6 separate regions of the Homo sapiens genome follow, and all the other regions are linked to region 1. The links are contacts of gene promoters, found by promoter capture Hi-C in blood cells and fetal thymus (Javierre and others, 2016). All regions are on one chromosome and are shown on one strand. Each heading gives the region's core, a stretch centred on a gene start or on the middle of the fragment in contact. The rest is flanking DNA. Distances are from core to core; before and after follow the strand shown.

Region 1 (5,178 bases), core at 1,077-3,576:
GATCCAGTTTATGATATCACAGTGCATTTAGTTGTCATGTCTTCTTAGTCTCCTCTGTGATGGGGTGGTATTAATTTTAATAATATATTTTATTTAACTCAATATAGCAAAAATATCATTTTAACCTGTAATTGATATTTTTAAAATTATCAATGTTTATTACTTTTTCTTATTCAGTCTTCAAAATCCAGAGTGTATTTTATACTTAACAGTACATCACATTTCATACTCAGACACTTTCACTGGAAATACTTCATCTGCATTTGGTTCTCACAAAATTTACAGTTGAAAAAGTAGGTTCATATACTTACATTGTTCCAAGTATACTTAAAAGTCTTCCAATAAATTCATGACTAATGCAAGTTTAGAAAAAAGAAAGCAAAAAAAATTACTTTAAATAGTTTAAAAATAATCCCATTAGATATCAGTTTTCAAATTTAAATATAAATTTAATTAATCAATTAAGGTTAATTGATTTAAAAATTCAGTTCCCAGTTGCACTAGACATACTCAAGTGCTCAATAGTCACAGACCATCACAAGGACTTTTGATTTTATTCCGAGCTAGAAAGGGAGCACTGAAGGGTTTTGAGCAAAGTAGTGACATAATCTGATTTAAGATGACTTTGCTATGTCAGAGAATAAATTGAGGTGAGGCAAGGGCAGAAGCAGGGAGACCAGCCAGGAGGCTACTGCAGGTAACATCAGTTAAGTGATGCAGATGCCTTGGACTGAAGTGGTGGCAGTGGAGGTGGGGAGAACTGGTAGGAGTCCAGGAATCTCTTGTGCCAGCCCTGACTCAATCTGCTTATGAGTTAGATAAGGGATCAGGGATGACACAAAGGTTTTGGGGCTAAAAAATTTAAGACAATGAATTTGTCTTTTATAGATTTTGTAAAAAAAACAGGTTTGGGTAGGAAGATCAGGGGCTTGGTTTTGGACATTTTGAGTTCAAGATGCGTATGAGACATGTAAGTGAAGATGTTAATAAGTAGGCAGTGGATATCTGAGTATGGAGTTGAGGAGAGCTCAGCTAATGATACACATTTGGGAGCCATCAACATATAGATGGTATTTAAAAATAGAAGACTGAAGGAGACCACCAAACGAGAGTACAGAAAGAAGTGTTAGGGTGAGGTCATCCAGCAACAGTATTTTAAGGAAAATGCAAGCTTTGTGATCAGGCCGCAAACAGATCAACGAGAATTGGAGGAATAATAAACTCTTTCCAGGCAGAAGCATTAGATGCAATGGTGCAAAGGTAAGTGATTAGCCAACCATGGTATAGCAAGTCATTTTGCTCTGCTGAAGCAGAAATACTAGCTAGCTGACACAGAAAGATGCATTAAGTGATTGAGAAGGGCTCTCACGCTAGCTGGGTGGCTATCCAGAGCTGGGAATGTGAGGGTTCTAAGGATAGCTTTGGAGTTAACAAGTGACAGCTGCAGTTAGTTTCCTATACATACACAAAACCAACCCGTCCTACCACAGAATATATGTCATAATGCTGGCACAACAGACACATCCCTTTTAGTTTTGCAGACGAGGAGTAACCGTTGCCCTGGACCACAAAGCCACTTAGCGGCAGAGCCTCGCACCCGCGAAGATTATTACTAGGGAGATGTTTTTACCCCTGAGGACACCTGAGCCCTTAAGTGGGGCAGGCTTCGAGGGAGGGGGGCCGATAAGGCGACTTCAGACAGGGCAATCACGATGGGCGCTTGAGTTCTGCGCAGAATTTTGACAAGGGGGAGGGTCTTGGCTTGAAGACAGAGCGTGGAGTCATTTAAGGATAATGGAAGGGCATAAGCAGAAGCTCAAGGATAAAAAGCACTGAAATTCTTGAGCTGGCGGCAGGGCTGAACGTAGCTCAGTGAAAGATCCTTTCTTGCCACATCCTCTCTAAGCCAGGCTGTGAGAACCGCGGGAAACGAAGGAGAAGGGTGGCGGTGGGGTCAGTAAAGGGCCGGCCCAAGGTGCATCTTTTAGGTCCTGATGCTAGGAGCAGCCGTCCCTGCCCCTATATTCCTCTCACTGGGTAGGTTTGCTCGGGAGTGGCTACCTCCCAGGCAAAAATTCGGCCTGGTTAAACTGGAAAGACCAGGAAAGCCCGCCCACGGGCGTCCGGGGAACGCCTGCAAAGTGCCAGCACCCTACCAACCCAGGCGCCGCACGGGTGGGGTCGCGGCCGCAGGCTCTTCCGGGGCGGGCCTAGCCTGACGCAGGAGGAGGGGCGGCCCCCGTCGCACAAGAACCAATCACGACTGTCGCTTCTACGTGGCTAGCATTGACCAATAGGAGACCGTAGTGATAGCGACGGGGAAATTCAAACGTGTTTGCGGAAAGGAGTTTGGGTTCCATCTTTTCATTTCCCCAGCGCAGCTTTCTGTAGGTAAGTTCTGTCTTACCGGTGCACCGGCGCACTGAGGAACAGCCGCAGCCGGTGTAGGGGCTCATTGTTAGCGCTGGTCGGTGAGGGGTGGGGCGAGGTGGGGGCAGCTCGGAGCCAGGTATGCGACGCGGCTAAACGAGCTGGAGGGGGAGGGGATGTCTCACTGCCTCAGCGGGTCTGGCCGGTGGGGTGATGCAGGAGGTTTTGTTGAGGAAGTAAGAAGTGGGTGTGGCCCACGCTGGAAAGAAGGGGTGGTGGGGTACCTGCGCACAAGATCGTTTTCCAAAGGACAGTCTCTCTTGTTTTGGGGGTTAGAACTGGGAAAGAAGCGGGTGGCCGTGATCTGACAGTTATCTTTCAAACCTGACTTAAGAGGTGGAGTGATACCTTGCTGCAACTTTATGACTTTTTTTCATTGTTAAACCTGAAGACGGGGCAGCATTGTTATCAGTGACACTGAGTTGGTGTTTGAGAGTCACAAAGATACGATTAACAATAAGACTGCAGACACTTTATTGAACAAACACCACCACCATGCAGATAAGCAAGTGCTCAGTACCAGTACAATAGTTTCTTAGTGTTAGATTAAGGTAGCAAATCGTGATTCTGCTAGATATGCACAAGAATAAATCTGCGGATTTCCTAATTATCAGTAAAGCCCCATCATGTTTATATTCTGCTTTGAAAGCACTTGCACTGGAAGATTTACTCAAGTAAAGCAGGCGAATAAAGGAATTGTTATTCCCATTGCCAAACGAATTCTTTATGTCTATGTCACTACCAGAATCCAAGCAATCTTTATGTGTATGTCGCTACCAAAATCCAAGCAAACACTCTATCATATTTTTTTTAAGTGACACTAAATTTGCAGATTTCTACAGTGTGACGTCATTGATGTTATATTGGGGGAAAAAGTATACTTGGCCTATGAAACCTTGGTGAATAAATTACAAAGATGTGTACCTTGTTGTTGTGCACTTACCTCCATTAATACTAGCCTAATAATAGCTGCATTTAGATGTGTTCACAAAACGAATGCTTTAGTCGTCTGGGTTCTAAAAAGCTAGTGCATTTTTTTCTTTGATGCTAGTTAAAGTAGGAGTTATGACTGTTCAGTTTTTTTCTTAGAAATGGAATCCGAGGATTTAAGTGGCAGAGAATTGACAATTGATTCCATAATGAACAAAGTGAGAGACATTAAAAATAAGTTTAAAAATGAAGACCTTACTGATGAACTAAGCTTGAATAAAATTTCTGCTGATACTACAGGTGAGTTTTTCTTTTCTTTTAAGTTAGTAACTGTTTGTTGGGTATCCTCTAAGGTAAAGATATAGTACTAATCACTTTATTTATAATTTACTCATGTGTTTATTGTCTTTCTCCTCCATTAGAATGCAGGCTACATGATGGCAGGGTTTTTGTCTGTTATATCCACAGAACTTTGAATGGTGTCTGGCACATGGTAGGTAGGCACTTAAACATTTATTGAACAATGATTAATGGGTGAAAATGCCCAGAGTTTAATACTCTAGCTCTTCTAAAAGTATTAGCTCAGAAGCCTGATTCTTTACTGTATTTCAAATGGTTGGTCATTTGAATGGTGACCTTTGGATAATTTTCTTACATCTATACTAACCTTTAAATAGATGAGGAATTGAAAATAAATGGAAGAACCTGTGATCTAATCATGGTGGCTGACTGTTCACTTTGAAAAAACCTAGAAAATGATAGTTTTAGTGTTAAGCAAAATCTTAATGGAGTATAATTGTGCTTAATTATGTCACTAACAAAGGTTGTACATCAAGGCAATTGAGTATTTTAAGTACTGAGGAAGATTCAAAGATGCTTAAAACCATAGTTTCTTTCTAGATGAGAATTTATATATTCACTATGCTACATTGTAATGCATGCTGGGCATCATAGGAATACTAGCATGATAAAACACAAATGTTTTATTTGTTGATTAGAGGAAGAATAGGGTACTCAGGCATGAGGAATGCATCTGCAAAGCCACAGATGGCAATGTGTGTTTTTTAGACATTTCACAGACTAATTTCTTAGGAAAGCAATAGGAGGTAAAAATAGAAAATTAAGGTCAGACCAAATTAAATTTAAAACGACAAAGCAAAGTTATGCATGCACTATATTTTAGTAGAAAGTAGAAACAAATTTTATTTATAAAAGTAAAGATGTAGGCTTTGTTGAAAGTGACTGAAGTTAATAGAAGGAATAATAGCTTCTCTGGAAATCTGAATTTAATATTGCTTAGTAATAACCAAAATATCCTGAACAGAAGACTGACATTCAAGTTATCTTTTTAAAAAACTAACACTGAAGAAAGTAAAAAGTACATTTCAGTGTGAACATTTTGTCTGAAGGTTATTCTTGCTGTTTCTGTTGGTTGGGGTTCCACAGAGAGAAACCTGACAGTCACAAGAGGTCCTATAAATTCCAAAGGTCTAGACCACGGTAACTATGAGTTTGTTGGACCAAGAAATTATCAGGGCCTCTAGCAGAAATTTAGGTTACTTGGAGAGAAGAAAATGATTGTCTCATTTGTTTATTTTTTGTAAAGCTGGTTTGGTTTTACAAGTAAGTATGAGGTATACAGAGATAATGTTGAATGGTTAAGGTTGTAAAGAAGGTTATGTTAGGACTGGAGCAGTAGGTTTAATGAATAAATCATTGATGGGAGAATTTTCTAAGTTAATTAGTACAAGTGGCAGTGGGAGAGATTTAGTTTTCTATGGATAGGTAGGATGCTAAAATTATAGTTATCCTGCAACA
Region 2 (5,178 bases), core at 1,451-3,950, 1.8 Mb after region 1:
AGAGTTTGTGAATATTTTCTGCCATTCTTTATGTTGTCTCTTTACTTTGCTGATGGTTTCCTTTGCTGTGCAGAAGATTTTTAGCTTAATGTGGTCCCATTTATTCATTTTTGCTTTGGTGGTCTGTCCTTTTACACAAGTCTTACACAAGAAAAATATGTGCCCACATCAAGTTCTGGACCATTTCCCCAATGTTTTCTTCCAGTAGTTTTATAGTTTCAGGTCTTAGATTTAAGTCTTTAATCCATTTTGAGTTGACTTTTGTATATGGTGAGAGACAGAATTCTAATTTCATTATTCTGCATATTGTTATCTTGTTTTCCCAGCACCATTTCCCAGAGACTGTCCTTTTTCTATTGTATGTTCTTGGTACCTTTGTCAAAAATGAGTTTGGCTTTAAATGTGTGGATTTATATCTGGGTTCTCTATTCTATGTGTCTGCTTTTATTCCAGTACCATTCTGGTTTGGTTATTATAGGTTTGTAGTATATTTTGAAGTTAGGTAGTGTGATGCCTCCAGCTTTGGCTATTTAGGGTTTGTGTAGTTCCATATAAATTTTAGAACTTCTTTTTAGTTTTGTGAAAAATGCCATTCATATATTGATAGGGATTGCATTGAATCTGTACATTATTTTGGGTACAATTGTCATTTTAACAATATTAATTCTTTCTATCCATGAGCATGGAATATATTTCCATTTTTTTTGGTGTCCTCTTCAGTTTCTTTCATCAGTGTTTTATTGCCTTGCTTGGATAGAATTTTCACTTTGGTTAGATGGATTTCAAAGTATTTTATATTATTTGTAACTACTATAAATGAGATTGCTTTCTTGATTTCTTTTTCAGATTATTCAGATAGTTGACATATATAAATGCTATAGATTTTTGTACATCGATTTTGTGCCTGCAACTTTACTGAATTTGTTTACCAGTTCTAACAGTTTTTTGGTGGAGTTTTTAGGCTTTTCTAAGTGTGAGACCGTGTCACCTGGAAACAAGGCTAATTTGACTTGTTCCTTTCTGATTTGAACTTTATTTATTTCTCTTACCTAATTACCCTGACCAGGAATTCTATATTATATTGAATAAAAGTGGTGTAAGCAGGCATCCTTGTTTTGTTCCAGATCTTAGAAGAAAAACTTTCAATGTTTCCCCCATTCAGTATGATGTTAGCTATGGGTTTGTAAAATATGGTCTTTATTATTTTGAGGTATGTTCCTTCTATACCCCATTTGTTGAAGGTTTGTATCATAAAGGAATGTTGAATTTTATTAAGTGCTTTTCAGCATCTATTGGAATGATCATAAAATTTTTGTTCTTGGTTCTGTTAATGTGATGTATTATTTTCACTGATTTGCATATGTTAAACCACTCTTGCATCCCTGGGATAAATCTCACTTGATCATGATAAATGATCTCTTTAATTTATTGTAGCATTCAAATTGCTAGTATTTTGTTGAGGTTTTTTGCATATATATTGATCAGTGACATTGTCTTGTAGTTTTTTTGTCGTTGTGTGCTTGTGTGATTTTGGTAACAGGGGAATGCTGGTCTTAGAATAAGTTTGGAAGTATTCCCTCCTCTTCAATTTTTTGGAAGACTTTGAGTAGAACTTGTGTTAGTTTTTCTTTAAATGTTTGGTGAAGCTTCAATCTCATTACTCATTATTAGTTTGTTGAGGTTTTCTAGTTTCATGGTTCAATCTTGGAAGGTTATATGTATCCAGGAATTTATCCACTTCTTCTAGGTTTTCCAATTTGTTCACATATAGTTGTTCATCATAGTCTCTAATGATTCTTTGTATTTCTGTGGTCTTTATTGTTGTGTCTCCTTTTTTGTTTCTGATTTTATATATTTGAGTTTTTTCTCATTTTCTTAGTCTAACTGAAAGATTGTCAATTTTGTTTATCTTTTCAAAAAGTCAACTTTTCATTTTGTTGATCTTCTGTATTATTTTAGTCTCAATTTCATTCATTTCTGCTCTAATACTCATTGTTTCTTTCCTTCTACTAAATTTGCATTTGATTTATTCTTGCTTTTCTGTCTGCCTGTAAAGTTGTCTAACATGCCAACAAGTTTTCAAGAATGCAATACAAACTAAAAAGGGGTTTGTGAAGGCCATATATGATCAATAGAAGACTTCACTTCTCTACTTTCTTTTGCAGCTTTCCAAAAGAATCATGCTAATATCCAAGTAAGCATACACACAGAGATTTAAATTACCATGATTTTCCCTTTCAGAGAAAGGGGAGGTTCTTCTTTCTACAGTTGAAATATATTTTTCAAACGTCCAGCTTTTAACAAAAAATTGTGAGACATACAAAGAAACAAGAACATATGGCCCACATGCAAGGATGAAAGATCACTGAAAACTGTCTTTGAGGAAGCCCTAAATGTTGAATTTACTAGGCAGAGACTTTAAATCAGCTATTTTAAATATGTTCAAAGAACTCAAGTAAATAGTATCTGAAGAACTGAAGTGTAAAAACAACATCTCACCAAACAGAGACTATCAATAAAGAGATATAAATTATAAAAAAGGGTCAAACAGAAAGTCTGATGTTGAAAAGTATAATAACTGAAATGAAAAATTTAGTAGAGACATTCAACAGCAGATTTGAACTGGCAAAAGAGAATCAGTGAACTTGAAAACAGATCAATCAAATATATCCAGTCTGAAGAGAAGAAAGAAAAAAGAATGGAAAAAAAAAAGGAAACCAGAGCCTTAGAAAATTGCAAGATACCAAGTCCAACATAAGCGTAATAAGTTTCAAGATAAAAAGAAAGCAGAAGGGAAAAAAGGAATATTTGAGTAAATAATGACTAAAATTTTCCAAAATTTGTTTAAAAAACATTAATCTACACATCCAAGAAGCTGAATGTATCCAAGTAGACAAACAAGAAGATTCACACCAAAACTCATAATAAAACTGTTGAAAAAGACAAAGAGAAAATCTTGAAAGCCACAAGAGAAAAGCAGCTCATCATATACATAAAAGGGATCCTCTAAATTAACAGTTAATTTTTTATTAGAAACCATGGTGTCAATCACGTATTCAGAGTGACAAAAGAAAAAAAAACTGTCAACTAAGCAAAACTATTTCTTAAAGAGGAAAGAGAAATTAAGACATTCCCCATATGTAGAACCAGAGAATTTGTTGCTAGTTGGGCCCCAAAAGAAATACTACTATGAACAAATATATGGTAACATATTAAATAATCTAAACAAAATGAACACTTTCTTAGAAAGGCAAAAACTACCAAAACTGACTCAAGAAGAAATAAAATAACTAAATAGACATATAGCAAGAAAAGAGATTGAATTAGCAATCAAAAAATTTCCCATAAAGAAAATTCCAGGACCAATTGGCTTCACTGGTCAATCAACCAAATGTTTAAAGAATTAACATCAAAACTTCACAAACTTATATAAAAAATAGAAAACATTTCAGAACTCATTTTATGAGGTTAGGATAATTCTGATACCAAAACTAGACAATAGTATATCTAAAAAAAAAGTGCAAACCAATATCCCTTATGAATATGGACACAAAAATCCTCAAAAACAATACAAAACTAGCAAACTAAATCTAGCAACATATATCAAGAATTATACATCATGAGACCATTAAATTAGATTTATTTCAGTAATGAAATATTGGTTCAGCATACAAAAATCCATGTAATACATGAGTAGTCTGACTCCCAAAATATTATGTGCCATTTTTCAGGTCTGACCACAGGACCAATTTCAAAAGCTTTACCTGGCAGGCCTCTTGGGGGAAAGCTACCTTCTCTACACAAGACATGGCGTACAGCTAGTGCACTGCAGGCTCCAACGAAAGTTGCAGTCACTTGCATTCCTAGCTCAGGATCCTCCCTTCGAAGGCATCGTTAGCAGGAGGCCCTGGGCCAAGGCCTTTTCAGGTGCATCTACTAAGCCCACCATACCTGGGGGACCTTGAAGACACTTTTCTTCACTCTGACTTAATATTAAGTACTTTCCCACTCCTAGCTTTTCTGTCTCTTCCCCTTCCATCCCTTGGGTCAGGAAACAGCAGGAACCTTCTTGGGAGGAATCCCTTGGCAGTGAGATAATCTCCATGTCTGCAATGATACATCTGACTCCTCCCAACACCATTCCATGGGAGAAAATGGAACATTGAGAGAGCCAGCACTTTTTCCTATTTAGCCTCTTGCTTATATTATCACCACTAAGTGATTAAAGGTTTGACTGTTACTTTAGCTTTGGCTTATTATTTTAATTGGCCACCTAGACCCTGGCAGCTCAGCAATCTTAAGTTCAGTTCTTGACATAGTAATATATTATATAACCATAGTAATATAATAAAGGACAAATTCCACATGATGATCTCAATGGGCACAGAAAAGACATTTGACAAACACCTAACAGTATTTATTATGATAAAACAGATTTATTATGATAAAACAGTATTTTTATGATAAAACACACAATAATCTAAGAATCTTTTATTTTATTTTATTTTTATTTATTTATTTATTTTTTTTTGTGAGATGGATTCTTGCTCTGTTGCTCAGGCTGAAGTGCAGTGGCATGATCTCGGCTCACTGCAAGCTCTGTCTCCCGGGTTCCTTTAACTTGATAAAGGGCATCTGTAAAAATCCACTATTAACATTATTCTTAATGGTAAAAGACTGAAAGCTTTCTCCTTAAGATCAGAAATGGGACAGGTATATCCCCTCTCATAATGTCTATTCAACATTGAATTTAATATTCTAGCCAGAGCAACTAGGCAAGAAGAAGTAATGAAAGGAATACAGACTGGAAAGAAACAAGTAAAACTATCTCTATTTCCAGATGACATAATCTTGCATATAGAAAATTCTTTTTAAAAAATCCACATGTACCCTAAAACTTAAAGTATAATAATAATAATAAAAATCCACAAAAAACTATTAGAACTAATAAATTAGTTCGGCAAGGTTGCAGGATATAAGATCAGCATACAAAAATTAACTGTTTTTCCACATACTACCAATGAATAATCTGAAAAAAATTAAGAAAGCTATCGCATCTGTAATAGTATCAAAAATAATAAAATACTTAGTAATACATTTAACAAAAAAGTTTTGTATTCTACATTGAAAAATAAAAAAAAAACTTGAAGGAAATTTAAAAAGACATAAATAGATGGA
Region 3 (5,178 bases), core at 865-3,364, 1.8 Mb after region 1:
AAATTAATTTGAAGAGTTTTTAAATGTAATATGCTAACACATTTCCCCACACCAGACAACACTCATTGGTACCTGTCACTTGTGGATAATCATGCCCCCTGAGGCCACTCAAAAAAACAATCTAAAACTTGGGAATGAATCATAGTGTCAGGTGTTCTGGAGTTTCCTGAGCATCTTTGTCACCATTTTTTTTCCCAACACCAACTGAAAGTATTATTGAGAAAGAAAATGAGACTAAAAGAAGATGAGATGTGCAACAAAGCTGAAAACAATTCAAGAGGCCAAGTTTATGGATGCTAAAGCATGCCCATTGCACTGCCTTGGGTAACTTTTGGCTTCACAAAAGACTTTGGGAAGATTCAGTCACAGGAAACCAAGACTATGAAAATGGAAAGGAGACACCTAATGTGGCCATCAGTTTATGTCACTGACACTGTTTTCTTAGTCCTATCACACACCTACAATGATGAAGGCAATCATACTTTGATTCCAGTGACACCAAGGGGTTGATAGAGATGAGTGGCTGGCCCCTGGAATTTCTATCAGTGATCCTATAGCTACACCAATGTAATAGTATAATAATCTCTAGAAAGTTGATCCTTTCTCAAACTCAAGCAGCATGAACATAAACTACATTAGAAACTCACTATTTTTATTGACCCAAAACATGTATGAAGTAAAAACATTACTTGTGATGCAAATTCAGCTTCCAGATGAGTCCATAATTTATCTTCCAGCCATATTGTTGCCATTAAATCCATCTATGTAGAATTCTGAAACTGCTTCCAATGGAAGGTCAAATTTGTTGCGATTGATATTATTTCCTTTGGGAACTCTCTGGAGGAGGTTACAGATTCTGTTCCACATTCAGTTTCTAAACATTGAAATCTTGGTATCACCAAGGTGTTTCCATACCACTGTTCCACCATCAACACTGAATATCGCTTTTGTATGTAAGCTCATGTCATCTAGATTTCCATTTTCCCTGTCAACTCCTGCAGATCACCTCACTAAAGTACTTAAAACAGTATCTGGGATTTAGTGAGCATTCGATGCATGGGAGTTATTAATATACCTAGAACCATTGGGTGTTTCCAATGTCCTTCAGCAGGGGTATGCCAAGGCCAACTTATTTGATTGTTAATATTTTTATTATTTTTTAATCATCCATCCCAGAATGTCATTTTATTACTTTTAGAAATTTAACAAGCCAATTGTTGGACATGCCCATCATTAAAAATTATATGAACTTATAATTCAATAAATTATATTAAAAATAAGGGTTATAAGCACCCCAAACTCATCACTTTCTAATTATTTTACTATATTTTATATTACTTAGGTTTTTGAGGCTATTTAACTCAATCGTATCAGCATGGCAGAAATACTGTATGATGGTGTACTACTGTGCTTCTCTTCCCCACTCTGTGTTCGGTGACGTCACCCTAGTAGCTTGAAAATGGTCATGATGGCAATGCTTCATGAAAGAAAGGAGCCAACACTACAAATCAGGACTTGGTTTAGTATTCTGTTGATTGTTTAGACTAAAGAAAATGATGGAGAAAATGTTAATAATGCTAATTAAACTTAACAGTGTGTTGTGCTTAATATTAAAGCCAAAAGCTATTTCAATTTAATGAACGTAACTTTGTACAAGCGTTAGCAATAGCTCAACAATAAATCACTTATAGGATTTAATGGCAACAAATTTATTGGAAAAAGAGGTAGCAGATTGGGGTCTAATCATTTGTGAAATCATGGTAGCATTGCAACCATAAGTTGGTTATGCATACAAGAGTTCTACAAAAAATAACAAAAGTATACTGTAAGAATCAATTGGATACGTGGAATTTACAAAAGGGTATTATATATTTTACTACTTATAAATTTGTGTTATGCTTTATTATATTACATTTATAAACTTTATATGTAAAATGTATAACAAGTATGTATATATATGCACACGTACATATACATATCTGTACACATACACATGCTTTTTTCCTAAAAGCTTTATTATGAAACATTCACTGCACACGTCTGCCTTTGGATTTTCTTACCAATCAAAGGATAAAATAACTTTGCTAAGGGTGGAATTCATACAAAAATGAGATGGTGAAAAGGAAAAATGGACATCACCTTAGAAAACCATGGAATCGTTCAAGTAGCAAATATTTATAATCAGTTATTGCTGCAAAACAAATAGCCTCAAAATCAGAAGCTTAAAACTGAGAATATTTTTTATTGCTCTGAATTTATGGTTCAGCTATGTAGTCCTGCTCATCTGAAACAGGTTTGACTGGGTTTACTCATGCATTCACAATCAACTAGCTGGTCTAGGATGGCTTTGCTCGTATGTCTGGCAACAGTCAGGTTGTTGTCTGGGGTGATAGAGGTAATCGAGCCACATGTATCCACCTGCCAACGGGATACCTCAGCTCATTTTCATAGTTATGGGCAAGATTAACACAAGGCCTCTTGGAGCCTGGGCTTAGAAGTGGCATAAAACTCACTTGCTCCTAATTGTTGACTAAAACAAGTCACAAATACAGCTCAGATTCAGAGGTGGGAAAATAACTTCCACCTCTTAATGGGAGTCTGGGAAGTCAAAGGATATGGATATAGAGAGGCATTGGCAATTTGAGTCATCATCTACCACAACGTTTTCTCCCATCTACGTATGCTCACTTCAGGATCCAGCTGAAATCCTATTTACCTTGGTTAAACAAACTGCCTGTGAATGGGGCCGGCCCAGCTGTAAACCGACAAACAAAATCTTCTTTGTCCCTGGATTATGGTCCTGCTCTCCCATTTTCTGAATATGAACAATTTAGTAGACCTACTGAGACAAGGATAAAGTAGCTAGAATTTAGTCTCAGTTTCTCTTTTCTCATAAAAAAAAATCCCATATAATGCAAATTTGCAATTAGAATCAGGTTGTAGAAGAAAAATTAAAAAGAGATTTAGTGGAATTAAGGAAGCTGAATGAAATTTAATCCCAAACACCAAGAAAAATATGTCTTAAAAGCTGTGGTTTTACAAAGTATGAGAGATATATGGACCCAAGCTCAACTTGCGTAAAGAGAAAAAGGGGGCAAAAAAGGGCTACTTTATTCCAGATAGAAACACTAAGGTTATAGGAAGGAACTACGTTGTGATAACCTCCTTTTTCTTCTTTGGCCCCTTACCAACATTTGCAATTATATTTATTTATTAACTGGCCTTTTTGTTGACTCATGTATCCCTAACACCTAACTCAGTACTCTGGCACAATAAATAGTTAAATGTTAAACTAATGCCTCAATATATGAGACAACAATGACTTTTATAGAAAAGTTATATTCATGTATGCATTTCAGTAATGTTTTCCTTTTAAAAATACTTTCTGCATAGTCTTCAAAAGTGAAACAGTAGAAAGGAAGGGTCCCGCCTAAATATTGGAAAACATTTGAGGATTTCTATGGTTCTTTCCTTCCTTTTGCAGATTGCAGAAGAATTGTAGAACCATACCAATCTTTACGTTTATTCAAATTAATCAGCCCTATTCCCTCAGCACAGCAGTGTAACCTGCACAAACAATACTCATGCATCTGTTTATAACATTTCTGTGTGGAGATCACATTTACCAATTTGGCTTTCAATCACAGCAATGACTATCTCTCAATGGTTTTTTAGCCAGTCATATTAAAATAATCCTGCCCGCTGATTCAGAATAGGAAGAAAGGAAGATAATGAATATTAGTTGAGTGATTAATTATCAGTTCCTATTCTAGGGTCTCTAATACATTATCTCTTTTAATTCTCTAAAACAATTCTTCAAAATAAGTATCACAATCTCCATTTCACAGATGAGAAATCTGAGGCTCAAAGAGGTCAAGAATTTGATACAGTTTACAGTTTGTAAAGTGACAGATATGGGATGTCAACTCCAGTAAGTCTGTCTGATTCTAAAGCTTTTGTTCTTTTCACTCTATAACTGTATTACTTCATCTCTTTTGTTTTAATCAAGATGGGTTTATATTCTTTATTTGAATTTTAATGGGGAAGAAGCTTTATAAGGTATCATTGGAAATGTAGTAGAAAAGAAAAAGAAATTTCTAAGCCTCTCCTTCCATTTATGATTCTTCCGGAAAGCATTAACAACCAAGAGAATGTCATATTTCAGCCCTCAAAGCAGATTAAAACAAACATTCTCATCAGCTATGGTTTATGTCGCAGCAAAATTTTGTATTGCCCATAACTAAAATATGCCCCTCCTTTTGATAATGAAGATCCCAGGTCTCACTGTACCCCTCGTATCATTCATCCAATTCTGGCTGGCACTGCTCCATGGCTGCACTCCCAGAATCAGTACATTCCCAAGCCAAACCATTCTTCTATTTCGTATTATGTCTGCTTTAATGGGGGAAGGAGTCTCAGAGAAAAGGAAACAGATAGAGGCTGTGTAAACACAGCATATCCTAGGCTTCAGAGTGAAGTAATATTAGAGGAAGTTTGAAATTTTGCAAAGTGATAGCAATTATACAGTTTAAGCATAATTACATGTAAGCATCATATATAATATAAAAGAGAAAGATATTATAAGCAAGTGGCAAAGAAAGATGGAAATAGATATCAGTGCATACACAGGAGAAAAAGAAACGGACCCTCAGAGGATTAATACAATTTCCCCTTTTAGTGGCAAGCACAAGGCAGTTTAATTTCACTTACTTCTCTATTTGACAAGGTTGTTTTTATGATCTCTTCTATTTATAGCCAAATGTTCTCCAGTGCAGTACTCCTCAAACCTGACTGCATGAAAATCACTAGGAGAGTTTGTTAAAATGCGGATTCTGACCCAGTAGCTCTGGAGTAAGCCCTGAAGAGACTGTGTTTCTAACAAGCTCGCAGTTAATATCCATGCTGCTGGACAATTTTAGAACCCCATTTGAGAAGCAAGGCTCTTGTTCATAAGACACTATATTGTGGAGTATGAGCGGGGAGAGGAATAAAAAGATCTAGTGCCTTAGAAAATGGAGTTAAAAAGAATATTTACTTAGTTTGCATTTCTAAGAATTCTCCAATTTTGGGCTATCAGTATTGACATCTTTTATCAGATTTCAGAAACTCGTTATGCTTTCCTTTTTAATATAAACAACATTTTTCTTGTTTTGCTGACTTCTAGCATTTGAGACCAGT
Region 4 (5,178 bases), core at 1,625-4,124, 1.8 Mb after region 1:
AAAAAAGCCAATGCAGCTTTCACCTTGCTCACTGGAAAGGTTGTTTTTGGAGTCTTCTCCCATCATATAAAAATTTCAACTCTCTTGAGACCACCGTGCTAGGAGGAAGCTTAAGCCACATGAAAAGACCACATGTTGGTGTTCCCATCAATTGCCCGGCTGTATTAGTGTGTTCTCATTCTGCTAAAAAAAGACACATCTGAGACTGGGTAGTTTATAAAGGAAAGAGGTTTAATTGACTCACAGTTCAGTACATGCTAGAGAGGCCTCAGGAAACTTACAATCATGGTGGAAGGGGAAGCAAACACATCCTTCTTCACATGGCAGCAGGAGAGAGAAGAATCACTTCCCAGTGAAGTGGGAAGCCCTTTATAAAACCATCAGATCTCAAAAGAACTAACTCACTATCATGAGAATAGGATGAGGAAAATGCCCCCATGATTCAATTACCTTCATCTGGTCCCTCCCACGACACATGGGGATTTGGGAAACTACAATTCAAGATGAGATTTGGGTGTGGACACAGCCAAACCATATCACCAGCTGAAGTGCCAGTCCATAGCCAGCATCAACCACAGTATACATCAATGAACAATACCATGAGATAAACCATGTTCAATAAGAATATATTAATCACATATGAAGTTTTAAATTTTCTATTAGCCATATTTTAAAAATTAAATAAAATGAGTGAAATTAATGTTGTTAATATATTTTACTTTACCCATTATATCTAAAAGAGTATTATTTCAACATATAATCAATATATGAATTATTAACAAGATAGCTTAATTTATTTTATTTGCCATACAAAGTCTTTGAAATAGTGGATGTGTGTGTGTGTGTGTGTGTGTCTGTGTATGTGTGTGTGTGTGTGTGTGTGTTTTGAACTTAGAGCACAACTCAATTCAGACTAGACACATTTCAAGCACTCAGTAGCAATGTGTGATTATTGCCTTCTCTACTGGACAGCACAGCTTTGGAAAATTCCAGCCTTCAGCCATCAAGTTCTCCTCCACTCCCACAGCAGCTATGGAGTCTTCCCAGTTAAGCACTAAACAATGTAGAGGTCTCCCCATAATCTTGACACACAAGATACAGGTTTTAAGCTGCTAAATTTTGGGATAATGATTGGCACTGATAGTGGAACCTAGATACTACTAGAAAGGTGGGTTACGAGAACAGATGTGTTTTTTGTCCTCTGTTTAAGCTTAATTATTTTTGAGAAAGATTAAATCATAGAATCTTAGAGGCCCTTAGAAAAGGTCTTAAAGAGTGTTTATTTCAACCTCCTACCTAGTGCTAATCATGTCTATATCATCCTCAGAAAATGGTCTACTCATCTTTGCTTGATCATTTACAAGTTACACCTCACAAGAAAATGTATTGAATTTTTTAGTGATTTTTACTTTTTGAAATTTTCCTTTATATTGAATTTTTAAATGGCCTTTTTATAACTTCTCTTCACCAGTGCTATTTTGGCCTCTAGAGCTACACGTCTCATCCCTCTGATGTAATAGCCTTCAGACCAGACAATAAATATATTTTCTCTGCCTATATATTACCCCACCTCAACCCCCATATTCCTTTTTCTAGGCTGAACACCCAAATTTCTTCAATTGCTCCTTGTAAGACATAGTTTTAAAAACTTTAACCACTAGACTAAACTCCCTCAGCTTTCCACTTTCTGACTCTTCATAAATCTCAAATCTTTCAATGTAATACTCAAAAGAGTATGCTCTAGATATGGCCTGGCCAATACACAGTTGAGTAGGACGGTTAGTCTTGTTCTAGATGATGTATTTTCATGAAGGTAAGAAAGATTGCTGCTCTCCAAAGGTATTTTAATGAAGCCGGGGCTCCCTCTATCTAAACACAAAGGATTGGTACTGATAGTGGATTAAGAGATAGCAGGGACTAAACAAATAGTCCCTTAGCTGCATGCAGCAATTTAGAGCCTAGGACTTAAAATTGGAAGACTGACTTTGATTTCAATTGGCAATTTACTAGATATGTGACTTCAGGAAAGTTGTTTATACTGTCTGTGTCACACTTTATTAAAAAAAAATCTTTATAGGAATATCATAAGAATATCCTAATATAGAAATGTGGCATTTTTGGCAGTCATTAAATGAACTAAATATGTATAAATGATTTGCAATCTGTAATTATACAAACATAAAATCTTTTTTAAATTACTGTCAACCTAAGAATAGATCTTGATGCTTATTTCCATATAATTTTAACTTCCTGATTTTGACTTATCATCACAGCTTGTGGAAAACTTTCTTTAAAATGTTATTTAGTCTGGTTTAGTAATTCAATAAATACTAAGCATTTATTCAGTATGACACATAGCATATTGGTTCTCCTTAGAAAGTCGATGAAAGTTTCAAAGTTCCCAGGTTATCCATCAACTGCTTACAGATCCATTGGAGTATTTTAATCAAAGGAGTAATTTGATTTTGGACTCAGGATGCTGTTCTTTGTACCTGATGATCTGGAACCCTGGGTCAGGTTGCCTAGGGCAGCAGCAGCAGTAGTCAGTAGACCTAACTCCACTTTAGGGCTGCTACAGGGAGCTACCTGTACAGCTTCCTACTCCATTCCAAAGCTCTAGCACAGTCTGAGTGAGCCAAACAATTACTACAGAATAAAAGAGCCTTTTTAATTAGTGTAGTTGTTGGATCTGGAGACTCTGGGACTCAGACTGGTGCAGGGCAGTAGGCCGTTAGGTATCTGGAACTTAATCATGGAGGAGACTGCACTCCTCTGCAAGGCTTCTAGTGGCACCAGACTCAGGAACAAGCTGTAACATTTGGACTTACTACGTCAGTCCTCAATATACTCCCACTGAAAAAGCCTAGAAGAGAGAAGCATATTTTCCATGTTCCTTCCCTTTATTTCATTTTCTTTTCTGTCTATACAATAACATTCATATAAAGTATAGCAACTTTAAACTCACTGTGAATGGCATGGCAGAGAATGGCAAGGTATTTTTCTGATATGACCTAGCATAGATATATTACAGATTTCTCCCGTCTACAAGTCATATATGCTTAGAGGGACCTTCTGGATCAGCTAGTGTGACATACTCAATTTACAGGAGAGATTGAGCTTTGGAAAATTAATTTGGCAAATTAACGGCAGCACAGACTACAATTTCCTATCTAATGAATTTTCTCTATGCTGTACGGATTAAGCAATTGAGTTAAGCTGCTGAGAAGGTCACAAATACACAAACATACATATATACACTCAGGCATACACACATTAAGTTGGAGTGTGAAAGAAACTGAGACAAACATCACTTATAATCTGATTCATGGCAGTTTCTCTTCATAAATGGAAACTGGATGGACCAGTTTTGCATTTCTGTTTTTTTTTTTTGAAAGCTGCGATGAAGTGACTGAATTGATCCACCCTCATTATGTACACCCACTCTTAGTTGCATACACTATCCTGAAACTCCATTAACATCTACTGAAATATGGGGTCTTGCACAACTCTCTATTAAGTGGCATTGAAGTTAGAATTAAGAAAGCAGAATGGGATCAACCATGCAAGGTTTCCAGAAAGGTAGATCTTTAAGATGGTAAGAGCAATACATCCATGTAGAAAAATGAGGATAACGTGAAGTTAAACAGCTTCTAAAAACATAGAAGTGGAAACAATCAAGTGGTATGAGAAAGGTAGAAAGCAAATAGTCTTGGCTGGGGCAGGGGCAGATGTATGGAAATCTGGTAGAAAGTGATGTGAAAGTGTGGCCACTGTCTCGACACCATCTAGATACGCATAATGGCATTATGCCGCTTCTACTGCTTATTGCACAGGGCGGTAATCCCAGCAGTGAAAACAATGTGGAGGCAGTTAATATTTGTAATATCATATGGGGCAGTTTCCAAAGTTAAATGCATTTCTCCCCAACATGGAGCTGGTTAGAACTAATTAACATGAAATCCATTGTACAAAAAGAGGGAGCAGAAGTGCTCACACTTCACTGAGTTTTTCATCTAAGTAATTCTGTGAAATCAAAGCAAGTACTGTACTTGAACTACTCTGTCAGGAACTATATATGCCATGCATTTATTAGCATTTCATGGTTTACCAAGCACATTCACAGATACATTGTGTTTCGTCTGACTTTCACATCAATCCTATGAGTTAGGCTATTATTATTCACAACTCACAGATGAACAAAGCCCAGCCTTGAGAAATTTGGTGAGTTGCCTGAGGTCATTCCACTTGTGGTGTCAGTGTTGGAGCTCAGACCCAGGTTCTGAATCTGAATCAAGTTATCTTTCCACTGAACCATTTCAGGGAATAATAAGGACATCTCCTTGGGCCCACCACCTTGAGTAGCCTTCTGACAGAAGGGACTTCTGTTAAGGTGTTCCTAGCTACCATAAAGAGTTGAATGTTAGACCAGAGCTGCCTTCTCTGCGGGACATTTTATAATCTGTCTGTCTGATGGCTCACATGGGCAAGTCTGCAATACACAACAGGACAATGGGTACTACGATAGAGTTTATGTATATAGAAGCTTGGAATGTCTATGACCCTCTGTGTAGCAAAATGGCAACTTGAAGAATTGTTTTAATAGGATTTATTAAAATTTTGACATTTATGCTTTCTGGGGAAGATGAGTTATGTAGACAGCAAAATGGATTTACTTTTTAATTGGCTTTTCTAAAATAATTCGTCTCATTTTGCATTTAGTCTTCAGCTGTTGCTCCGATGCCTAAAATTTTATGTTTTTACATTTTCTGAGGCAGATATTATTAAAATATTCACTGCTACTTGATATTTCAGTGCTTTAGTTTCAGTTTCATTTTTAGGAAATTGATAATATTTTCAAATTATATACCAGAGTGATTGTGTCAATGCAATTTCCTTTTTGTTTTTACTGTATTTACTTTATTCAAGATGCTTTTTGCTTTCTTTACTCAGACACACATCCTTGTGTGATTTTTTGTGTGTGCGCTTTCTAATATTTTTTTCTTGCCCAGTGGCTATTACTATTTTGCCTTGTTCAAAATTCATTCATGTCGGTTTCAAAAGAACTTCAAATATTTGTTTACATTTTACTGTATGAGGCAAGTCCTGTCATTTATCTAACAATGACCAACATTGCTCCTTTAAATGTCTCCCCAAAACAGGTCCTCCCCAGTTCTTCAT
Region 5 (5,178 bases), core at 1,626-4,125, 1.7 Mb after region 1:
ACAGCATGTCAAGCCCTGTATTAGAAACTGGGAATACAATGGTGAGCACATTGCTCTTGCCTATGGAATTGTTTGGGCCAGTTCATTTCCAGGCCAGGTGACAACACACAACATTCATTACTCAAAGTACTGATGATTTATGATTTTAACATTTAGGACACATTACAGCTGCTAAAATAACTTTTATATCCATTATCTCATTAAATCTGTATAGCCATAATCTAAGTTGTTTAGAGGAGGTATTAGTTCATTTTATAGGCTGAGGAAACAAAAGTCCAAGGTTCACTAAGTAGTAAGTGTTGAGACTAGAATTCAAACCTGAAAGCCTGATCCCAAACACTGTCTCTTCCCACAATGCAGACTTGCTGTTTCTTACCCTTTCCATTCCTGGGCTGACGATGAATGCAGATGAGGAGCTGAGCATGAGGGTCTGTGTATCAAGATCCCACAAGCTCTACTTCTTTTTCAGTGCTTCTGCTGTCTTACTGCATTTACGGGAAACCCAAACTGCTCCAGGGATATGACTCATAAAGAGTTTTAATGCAGAAAGAGGGTGCTTACAAAATGGTTGGAAGAGCTAAAGGAGGAAAAGTCAGAGGGCCCTACTGGACTCTTGGTTTTTTTGTTTTTTTTTTTGGTTTTTTTTGAGGGACAAGGTCTCACTCTGTCATTCAGGCTAGAGTGCAATGGAACAATCATGGCTCCCCTCGTCCTTAACCTACCAGGCTCAAGTGATCCTCCTGCCTCAGCCTCCAGAGTAGCTGGGACTACAGGCATGTGCCACCACGCCCAGCTAATTTTTTAAACTTTTTTATAGATAGGGTCTCACTATGTTGCCCAAGCTGGTCTCAAACTCCTGGGCTCAAACTATCTTCCCCCTTGGGCTCCCAAAGTGCTGGGATTACAGGTATGAGCCACCACACTTGGCCAACTCTTGCTTTTAAAGTCACTCCACTACAGCTGAAATCCATAGGTGAAGAAATTACTGTTGTCGCCAGTACACACATCTACAGAAACTTGGTGGTGGTACCACAGCCACATAAAAAGGGGCTCTCTACCACATACTATGCACAAGTGCAACCTATTGGCAAAATCTGAATTGCAGCCAGAAACCTAGCAGCAAGAGAGTCTTGTAAATGTAGCTCTTTGCCTTCCAACTCCTGGGATGCAGGTTAGAATATAGAAAGGTGGAAAGAGATGTCAAGTGCCAATCAACAATATTTAACACTAATTTTTATTTTCCCAATGTATTCTGTGTGGCTCCTGTCTTTCCTCAATCTTATATGCCCTCTTTAAATCCAACTTTATCTTTTTGACATGCTGAAATAACCCCTCAATAATCTCTCCTTCACCTTCAGTGACAATATTGCATTGAAGGACATAAACTTTAGCTACTTTCTTCCTCTCTTTCTTAGTCAGAACCCCATATGTTGCCAAATCAACCCTACCTTTGGAATTAAATGAAGCATCACCCTACAGGACATAAAATTTGCATTCCTGCACAGTTACTCAAGGACCAGATGAAGCAACTAGAAATGTGAAAGAGGTAGTTCTACCCAGAGTGAATTTTGACCAGTGGGAAAAGGGAGACAGAGAGAAAGCAAGCAGGCAATTATTTCTCCTTTCTCTCCCCTGCATACTACTCCCAGGTACAGTGCTTCCTTTCAAGCCTTCTAGATAATTCCTTCCTGCTGACTGAACAAGCCTGCTGAATTATCTGATATGTTGTGTTATGGCTGTGATGCAGTAGCCAGCATGGTAGCACACTGTGTTGCAAGAGATTACATCTGTTCCTTACCTCAACATCCTGTGATGTGATTGTATCTGGAAAATAAACTATTAGAATCATAATCATTGCTTCAGGCTCGGCTTTCCAGAGGATTCAGGCTAAGTGACATAGATTTGACACTATTGGAACCTGTAAAGCAAGGGCTCTGAGCAGAGCTGTGCTTCAGAAACACTTTGTGAAAATCACAGGTATTTTTGCTTCACTCAAGTCTGACTATATAAAAATGGCTAAGGGTGGGCCTGGGCATGCATGTGTTTCTTTAAGTACAGTTTTAGAAATGCATGAACTAGTACAAGTTCAGAACTAAAATCCAGGCCCACTAACCTGATTCTCTGTGCTCCCATCCCTATGAACTATGTACCAAGTGACAAGAGAATTTTGGTGCCACTATGTACTGAGAAAGGCTTATGACATCATTAACTAGAAGTCACAGACTAGAATAAGAATTCCAGGGAACATGTCTGTGGTGGCATAACTAAACAGGTGTGATAAGCATACAGCACAAGAGGACTAATTAACATTTTAGGAGTTTCATGAGTTTATTCAGAATTTTGTAAGAAGTTAGCATATCTCATTATACTCTTTACCTTGCCTTTCAGACATTTTCTTTAATTTTTTTTAAAGATTCAAAAGCAGCCACCTGGTAGCATGCATTGCCAATAAGAAGCGATGTAGGCTAGACTAATTGATCACTTTTTAAAGATTAAGTGGCCCATTTTCTGTAATATGAATACAGAAAACAGCTTTGACAACACCGAAGTAGTTTATTGAATTTTGACTGTCAACTGAAAATTTAAATCATGCTTATTTTTCACAAGGTAATCCACTCACAATAGGCAATTGATGTGATCTCTTTCTGTAAGAAAAGCTCTCATGCTCTTCCTGAACCTTCTACTTACTGTGCTGTTATGATGCACCTGCCTTTTGGATAGATGGTTGATAGGAGATGGGTTGTTAAAGACACAATTTACCTTGTGTGTTTCAGGCAGAAATAGACTCTCTCTGTGTAATCACTGAATGAGTTCCAAAAGCCTTTATGTCTTACATACAAGCTCAGACACTCCAGAACTCATTTTTCTTAACTTAAAAGTGGGATAATTGTAATACCTTTTGTACCTATCAGGATTATTGTGACTATTAACTGGAAAATATAATTGTTTTATCAAATTGCTATGAATGTGTACCACTTCTGTTATACATTATATGGAAAAGCCTTCCATTGGGAAGTATTGGTCACATTGTATAACCATTCTTTTTCTTGGGGCCTGTACTACTTCATCTGGGCTACAACTGTGTATAGCTCAGATATCCTCCTGCTCTTGATATCCTCCTCTTTACAGATTTCTTCAAGTGGTTCTTGAAACCTTAAGTTTATTTAGAAGGCCTAAATCTACCTTCTTTCTAATTGGAACTTTACATAAAATTCTCATTATTTATTGTGAAATACATCCTCCTATTTCATTTTTCTCGATCCATCTCCCTCCTAGCCTCCCTTCTCATGTGAATCACGTGGGTTAAGTAGGTTGAAATTCTGGACAAGATTCAGAGAATTCACATTGGTTTTAATATATACAAGTAGCAAAAATTAGAGACTAATTTTTAAAATTTTTTGTAGACTTTGTTTTATCTATGAAGTCCAGCATACTTTGTCACATACCTAACTTTTTCAATAATTATAAAACGGCACCTAAAATCAGAAGCCTTATTGTGACAACATGCCATAGCATGGCAGGCACAAGGTCTGACAACACGGCAACATTCTGAAATTGGGAGACTCATGAAAAACCCATAACAAATGGGCACAACAGGTATAATGCCCCAGGGCAAGACTGTTCTATGAGGCTTGACCAGCTAAGGATGCCACTGGAAATACTGATTGCTTTTTAGAAAAGGCTAATGGGCAGACTGCCCTTTCTACATTTCCCTTCCTCAAATAACAAAGTGCATTTCCTGAATAGTAGCCTCTATTCTTACTCAAAATATAACAAACAGATCCAGTCTTTGTGCTCTATGTCTTGAAAATTTCTTTCAGGGATTCCCTAGTTCTGAGAAATGTAGCAGATGATTTAAAAAAAAGAAAGAAAGAAAGAAAGTGTAGTTACTACCCAAGACAACTGGAATCCTCACTTTACCAGGCTGCCAGATTTGGTTTGGAACAGATAACAGATCCATGGGTGCTAGCAGATATGTCCCTGAGTACCATGCCACAACAAACATTGTTTACCCATTGTTCTCAACTCCTCAAGCTCAGGAATCAAAAAGAGGCAACAGGTTCTTTCGTTCAAATACCCCTGCCCTAAACAACTCAGCTGAGAATATCTCTTTCATACTGTTCAGTGCTCCTAAATTGATTCAAAATTGGAATTTCTCCACCTGGGTTTTCCTCCATTCTTTTTCAACAAGCAGGCAATCTCTAAGATCCTTCTCTTATTTCAACAGTGTTCCTGATGACTCTTCCTTCACCATTTTAACATCTTCTTTGATATGTTCCCAATATTTCACCTCACCTTTCATTTTGAATCAAATGAGACTTATTCATTCATTAACTCACAAAAATTTAACAAGCACCTCCTAGGTAGCAGGCACTATTTCAAACACTAAAAATATAGTAATAAATAAGACAAATTTGTGGCCTTTATGGAATTTCATTCTATGGTGACAAACCATAAACAAAGAAATTGATCTATAATACAGTTTCAGGTACTGACAAGTGTGATGGTAACATATATATAAAAATCAAGTTAAGAACTTAGAGAGTAATTTTGTAAAAATGTTGGAGAAAACTCTATTTTAGAAAACAGGATCAGAAAAAAATTTCTCTGAGAAAGTAGCATTTCAACAGCAACAAAAATTAATAATAAAGTGAGAGTGCAAGAGATATAAAGATCTGGAGGAAGAGAATTAAAAGGAGATGGAACAACCAGCATATGTTATGAAGTGGAAATGAGCTTGGGCACACTTAAACATTGATCAGGCCAAATAATTGCACTTTTGCTTTATGTTGTATTTGTCCATATACCTGTGTCAACTTTCCAATTTCAGCTTCTAGTGAAAAGAAGCCAGTTTTGTGTAACTCTTTGTAAATCTTCACATAGTATCAATCAAAGACATGAAAAATTAAGTATTTACTGAACGTTTTGATGACGGTGAAGGCTGCGCATTTCTCCCATCATGCAGTACAGGTGAGTGCATAAGTAATTAGTATGAGAGCTATAAAGCCTCTTTAAATAAGGTGTCTACTTGAACTAAAATAAATAGACTGAAAGCACAATTGGTTTTACATAAATTGGGAGTGGAATAAGATTTGGAGTGCATGGGGAATTTGATGCAATTGAAGAATCTGAGAAAGGGACTTTCACAGTGATGAAAAAGACAGCAAAGACTAAATT
Region 6 (5,178 bases), core at 1,355-3,854, 1.1 Mb before region 1:
GACTTGTGTTCCCCAAAATTCGTATGTTGGAGTGCTCTTCAATGTGACTGTGTTTGGAACAGGGCTTTTAAGAAGGTAATTAAGGTTAAATGGAAGTCACAAAGGTGAGGCTCTATGAAGAGACATCGGGGTAATGTGCACAGAGGCAAGGCTATGTGAGGATGCTGCAAGAAAGTAGCCGTCTGCAAGCCAACCAGAAAGGCCTTGGGGGAAACCAAAACTGCTGACACCTTAATCTTGGACTTCTAGGCCCCAGAACTGTGAGAAAATAAATTTGTGCTGTTTAAGCTCCAAAGTCTTTGAAGCCGAAAGACTTTTGTTATGGCAATAGCAATCTAATACAGTTTGCCTCAGTGTTCATTATTTTTCTTTTGACACGTTTGTTTCTTCTAGCAACAGTTCTCTAAGCATTAAGACTCTTAGCCCTTTATACATAATAAACATTAACAAACATTTTTCCCCATTTATTTGCCCCCCCACCTTTGTTTTTATTTTGCTTTATATAACTGATTTTTTTTAGTATAGTCCAATTTTTCAAACTTTTCCTTCATGGTTGCTGCACATGAAATTATGATTAAGGCCAGCCTTCCCATCCCCCAGAATATTTATATTTACATATAGGTTCTTCCAATTATTTTTCTTTTTGGTCTCATCTGAATTATTTTCAATGTATGATATAAGATACAAATTCTTTAAAAATATAGCTTACAATGGGCCAGGCACCGTGGCTCATGCCTGTAATCCCAGCACTTCGGGAGGCCGAGGTGGACGGATCACGAGGTCAGGAGATCGAGACCATCCTGGCTAACACGGTGAAACCCCATCTCTACTAAAAATACAAAAAAATTAGCCGGGCGTGGTGGCGGGCACATGTAGTCCCAGCTACTCGGGAGCTGAGGCAGGAGAATGGCGTGAACCCGGGAGGCGGAGCTTGCAGTGAGCCCAGATCGCACCACTGCACTCCAGCCAGAATGACAGAGCGAGACTCCGCCTCAAAAAAAAAAAAATATATATATATATAAAATATACTATAGCTATATAGCTATAGTATATTATATATATAGCTTACAATTATCCCTGTACCATGTAATCATTTTCCACTGATATGAAATCTTTTATCGTATACTAAATACTTACACTTTAACTCCTGTTGCTTTTTGTTTATGACATTCACTCATTCAATAATTTATTTTGGAGGCTATATTCTTCCGCATTTATCGTAAGGGAAAAAGAATTTTTCACCAAGTTTAAGAAACATTATTTTGGGTGTCTTAAATAATAAAAGACTATGACGGAAAGTTCTTAACGTTAGTTTTTAAATTAAAATTGTTTTCAGCTAACAATAAACAAGATGGATATACACAAAATTATGTTAATCTAGTGATGAGCCTAATTAAAGGAGGGGGGTACCATTGATTTAGTTGAATTATACTAATCGAAAAGAACAGAAAAAACGATGGTGAAGAAACTACAAGAGGACTGTCAGCTTTTCAGGGTCCTTTTAAAAGAACAGTTCTTGTCCTTCTAGAACTAGTTATTCAAAATTCTTTTTTCCCCCCTCGATTCTCTTGATAAAATTCAGATAGTAAAGACGTATAAGTCAGTGGGGCTATTTTTACAAAGATCATTGCTTAGTGCTAGGAAGAGAATCCAGAAGACGGGAAGTTGAGGGTTGTGTTCTAAAAGTTCTCTGAAGAAAAGGGTACAGAGAAGCTCCAAGTTGTGCAGGCCCAGCAAACTCCATGTTGGACGTGCTTTGCTACCACCTAAATCTCTTCTGTCGGAATTCAAGGCCCGAACCATTCCAGGGATTTTAGAAAAAAATGGGGAGACACAAAAATGATGCCAAAGCCATAGCTATCATTACAAACATCCATTATGTTCACTCTGCTTTCCATATGCAACGCACTCTACATACAATGGGCGCCTTATAAGCACATAGCAAATGTGAAAAATATTATCAACATTGCTTTGATAATATTAATATATTATATATATTAGAATATATTATATATTAGAATATATTATATATATTAGAATATATTATATATTACTAATATAAAAAATATTATCAACCCTGCTTTAGAGAAGATGATACTGAGATATGAAGAATCATAAACTGTCCAAGATCACAGGGGCAAAAAGTTCACCTCAACTGAAACCTCTCACGAACCACAAAAATGTGGCCGAGGGAGCCTCAAAAAGCAGTACCCCAAGCGGGGACGGTAAAGTCAGAAAAGACAAGGCTGGGGGTAATCACAGAGAAATCTAAAAACCCGCTCGGCCTCGCTACTCTTCTCCTTCCTCTGAGGTGCAGAGGCGCGGTGGGACGACAAGGAGTTGCGAGAAAGGGCAGAGCTCACTGAGGAGGCAACAGAGAAAGTCCGCTAACAATTTTTGAAGGCCGTAAGTTAAACATGTTAAAAACTGTAGCTACTCACTCAGCCGACATCTAGTAAAAAAGATGCGGCAAGATCAACAAGGCATATAGCTTGCGCCCGCCAGAAGTTCCGCGGCCTCCACACCCATCCCGGCATACTTTGCGCCGTGCACAGGCAAGCCCTGGTGCGCATTGGCCCCTTCGGCCGCCGTCGGCCGGTAGTTACTATGGAAACCCAGCTGCCATCGCTATGTCTCTGCAAAAGACCCCTCCGACCCGAGTGTTCGTGGAACTGGTTCCCTGGGCTGACCGGAGCCGGGAGAACAACCTGGCCTCAGGGAGAGAGACGCTACCGGGCTTACGCCACCCCCTCTCCTCAACACAAGCCCAAACTGCTACCCGCGAGGTGCAAGTAAGCGGCACCTCAGAAGTGTCTGCGGGCCCTGACCGGGCGCAGGTGGTGGTGCGAGTGAGCAGCACCAAGGAGGCGGCAGCCGAGGCCAAAAAGAGCGTTTGTCGCCGTCTAGATTACATCACGCAGAGCCTCCAGCAGCAGGGCGTGCAGGTGAGATCTCCGCGGGGGAGGAAATAAGAGCCGGAAGACACAAAAGGGTTGGCAGATGGTCGGGCCCCACAGGCCCCCCTAGCGGGAAGGGAGATGTGGAGGGTCTGGAGCGTTTAGGACGCGTTTGTTGCAAAGGTACTCCGGGACGCCAGGACCTGGCAGAGTGAATATTTGACCCATTCTTCTCCTAGACGAAGGTAATTATTGGCCTCAGGCAAATTAAAAATAAAAGAATGCAAATTGGGTAGGTTTTTATCTGGGGATATTTGCTTCAGTGATTTTGTTTTTAAATTTAAAGTGATGAAATGTTAAAACTTGAAATGTTAGTTGTAAATACTTGCCCACGTGGAGTGCTGGACACTAAATATTTTGTTTTGTTTTGTTTTTATTCCGCACCATGGAATTGGCAAGTGAAGAGCACGACCTGCTTCCTTCCGATCATGTAAAACTTTGCATGGAATGGTTCTTGAGTATGTTCCGCAAACAGTAACGTTGGGAAGTGGGGAAGAAGTTGCGTCCATTTTCATTTTATAATGATTTTCATTTTATAGTGATTCCCCCAAAATTTCTTCGGCCTTCTTAGGTTTAACTTAAAAGAAAAAATCAAGCCAGTATTGTGGATACCACATATACGAAATACTTCTACTTACTTAACGGAGATGTCCATGAGACAAATCACTAAACAAATCTTACCTTAAGCCTACTCCTAAGGCAAGAAAAAAAATGAAGCCATCATTTAATCCACACAATAGCACTGTTAGGCATGTTTTAATATCCCTGTTTTCCAAATTTAAAGAGGTTAAACAATGCTCTGAACTTTAGGTAGAGCAATATTTGAACTCATGTATTCCTGAAACCAGAATGTAAGTTGCTTCCAATTCTGCCGATAATTAGAATGAAAGAAAATTAGAAATCATAGGGATCAACGATTTCAGTTTTCTCATTTTATAGAGTAGGACCCCAAAGGCCAGAGATGTAACTTATCCAGGATGACATTGAGTTGGTAAAAGTGCAGGCATTGTTACTTCCAGTCTATTGCAAGAAATTCCATACCCCGAAAAAGCAAGTCCTTATTTTTAACAAGAAAAGATATTTGAATTGCATTTATAATACAAACATACAAGTTATTACAAAGTCATTTGGACAAGATTTCTTCAAATGATTTTACAATTTAGAAAAATACAGATAATTATAAATAATGTGAGTAAAGTGGGTTTAATATGTAGAAAAATAGTTTTAAAAAACTGCTACTAGTGCTGTAGTCGTTTGAATAATGTTAACAAGTTTTTAAGTTATTTACATAAAATAAAAAGAGCTCACAGGTCTCTAATATATAAAACAACATAAGCTGGGCATGGTGGCTCATGCCTGTAATGCCAACACTTTGGGAGGCCAAGGCAGGTGGATCACTTGAGGCCAGGAGTTCGAGACCAGCCTGGCCAACATGGCAAAACCCAATCTCTAGTAAAAATACAAAAATTAGGTGGGCATGGTGGCACAGTCCTGTAATCCCAGCTACTAGGGTGACTGAGGCAGGAAAATCTCTTGAATCCGGGAGGCGAAGGTTTCAGTGAGCCGAGATGGTGCCACTGCACTCCAGCTTGGGTGACAGAGACTCTGTCTCAAATAAGTAGTAAGTAAATAAATTAACTAAGTCCAACTTAGAGTAATCAAGATTCAGTGTTCAAGGCAAGACATAAGAAAGACAGTAACCTCCCAATTATCTCTGCTAATGGATGAAAGCAGTCAGGTAGATAATTTGTTCAGGAGATAATACAAAATATCATTTATATTTTCAGAATGAATTATGGGTCTTCACAAAGTCTGTATTCATTTTAAACTTTAGAATTCTGAGCTGTAAGATTTATAAACATCACTTCCCTGCTTAAAGGGCTCCTCATAATCCAAACTCCTTTGCTTAAAAGATGGAGCCTGAGCCGGGCGTGGTGGCTCACGCCTGTAATCCCATCACTTTGGGAGGCCGAGGAGGGCAGATCACCTGAGGTGAGGAGTTCAAGACCAGCCTGACCAACATGGTGAAATCTCGTCTCTACTAAAAATACCAAAATTAGCCAAGCATGGTGGTGCATGCCTGTAATCCCAGTTACTTGTGAGGCTGAGGCAGGAGAATTGCTTGAACCCAGGAGGCGGAGGTTGCAGTCAGCTGAGTTCGTGCCATTGCACTCCAGCCTGGGCAACAAGAGTGAAACTCCGTCCCAAAAAAAAAAAAAAA

Evidence for each region. The method cuts DNA at HindIII sites, captures the fragments that hold promoters and counts their contacts. A CHiCAGO score of 5 or more calls a contact.
Region 2: a fragment that was not itself captured here is called in contact with the fragment with the promoter of TTK in region 1 in 2 of 17 cell types (naive B cells and total B cells); the score reaches 6.3 in naive B cells.
Region 3: a contact is called between a fragment that was not itself captured here and the fragment with the promoter of TTK in region 1, in 4 of 17 cell types (total B cells, monocytes, naive B cells and 1 more). The highest score is 16.0, in total B cells.
Region 4: a fragment that was not itself captured here is called in contact with the fragment with the promoter of TTK in region 1 in 4 of 17 cell types (total B cells, neutrophils, monocytes and 1 more); the score reaches 8.7 in total B cells.
Region 5: a fragment that was not itself captured here is called in contact with the fragment with the promoter of TTK in region 1 in 8 of 17 cell types (neutrophils, naive CD4 T cells, total CD4 T cells and 5 more); the score reaches 19.2 in neutrophils.
Region 6: a contact is called between the fragment with the promoter of IRAK1BP1 here and the fragment with the promoter of TTK in region 1, in 1 of 17 cell types (fetal thymus). The highest score is 5.4, in fetal thymus.

Annotation. Positions count from the first base shown.
Region 1 is chr6:80,002,323-80,007,500 of GRCh38, forward strand. It overlaps TTK (TTK protein kinase), which reads left to right and starts at 2,327. Exons shown (of 22, transcript NM_003318.5): 1 at 2,327-2,391; 2 at 3,520-3,660. The coding sequence starts at 3,522. RefSeq lists enhancers at 1,364-2,238, 1,809-1,928. The HindIII fragment of the contact is 2,460 bases long and covers 1,170-3,629 here.
Region 2 is chr6:81,823,893-81,829,070 of GRCh38, forward strand. No RefSeq gene overlaps it. Among named protein-coding and RNA genes, the nearest start is that of LINC01526, 12 kb to the left of the region's middle. The HindIII fragment of the contact is 2,112 bases long and covers 1,645-3,756 here.
Region 3 is chr6:81,804,655-81,809,832 of GRCh38, forward strand. No RefSeq gene overlaps it. Among named protein-coding and RNA genes, the nearest start is that of LINC01526, 6.9 kb to the right of the region's middle. The HindIII fragment of the contact is 210 bases long and covers 2,010-2,219 here.
Region 4 is chr6:81,782,207-81,787,384 of GRCh38, forward strand. No RefSeq gene overlaps it. Among named protein-coding and RNA genes, the nearest start is that of LINC01526, 29 kb to the right of the region's middle. The HindIII fragment of the contact is 3,333 bases long and covers 1,209-4,541 here.
Region 5 is chr6:81,734,452-81,739,629 of GRCh38, forward strand. No RefSeq gene overlaps it. Among named protein-coding and RNA genes, the nearest start is that of TENT5A, 16 kb to the right of the region's middle. The HindIII fragment of the contact is 6,057 bases long and covers 1-5,178 here.
Region 6 is chr6:78,864,947-78,870,124 of GRCh38, forward strand. It overlaps IRAK1BP1 (interleukin 1 receptor associated kinase 1 binding protein 1), which reads left to right and starts at 2,605. Exons shown (of 4, transcript NM_001010844.4): 1 at 2,605-2,945. The coding sequence starts at 2,631. LOC107986613 (a long non-coding RNA gene) reads right to left here and starts at 2,544. Exons shown (of 2, transcript XR_001744210.2): 1 at 2,442-2,544. RefSeq lists enhancers at 2,500-2,609, 2,640-2,959, 2,792-3,392. The HindIII fragment of the contact is 7,957 bases long and covers 1-5,178 here.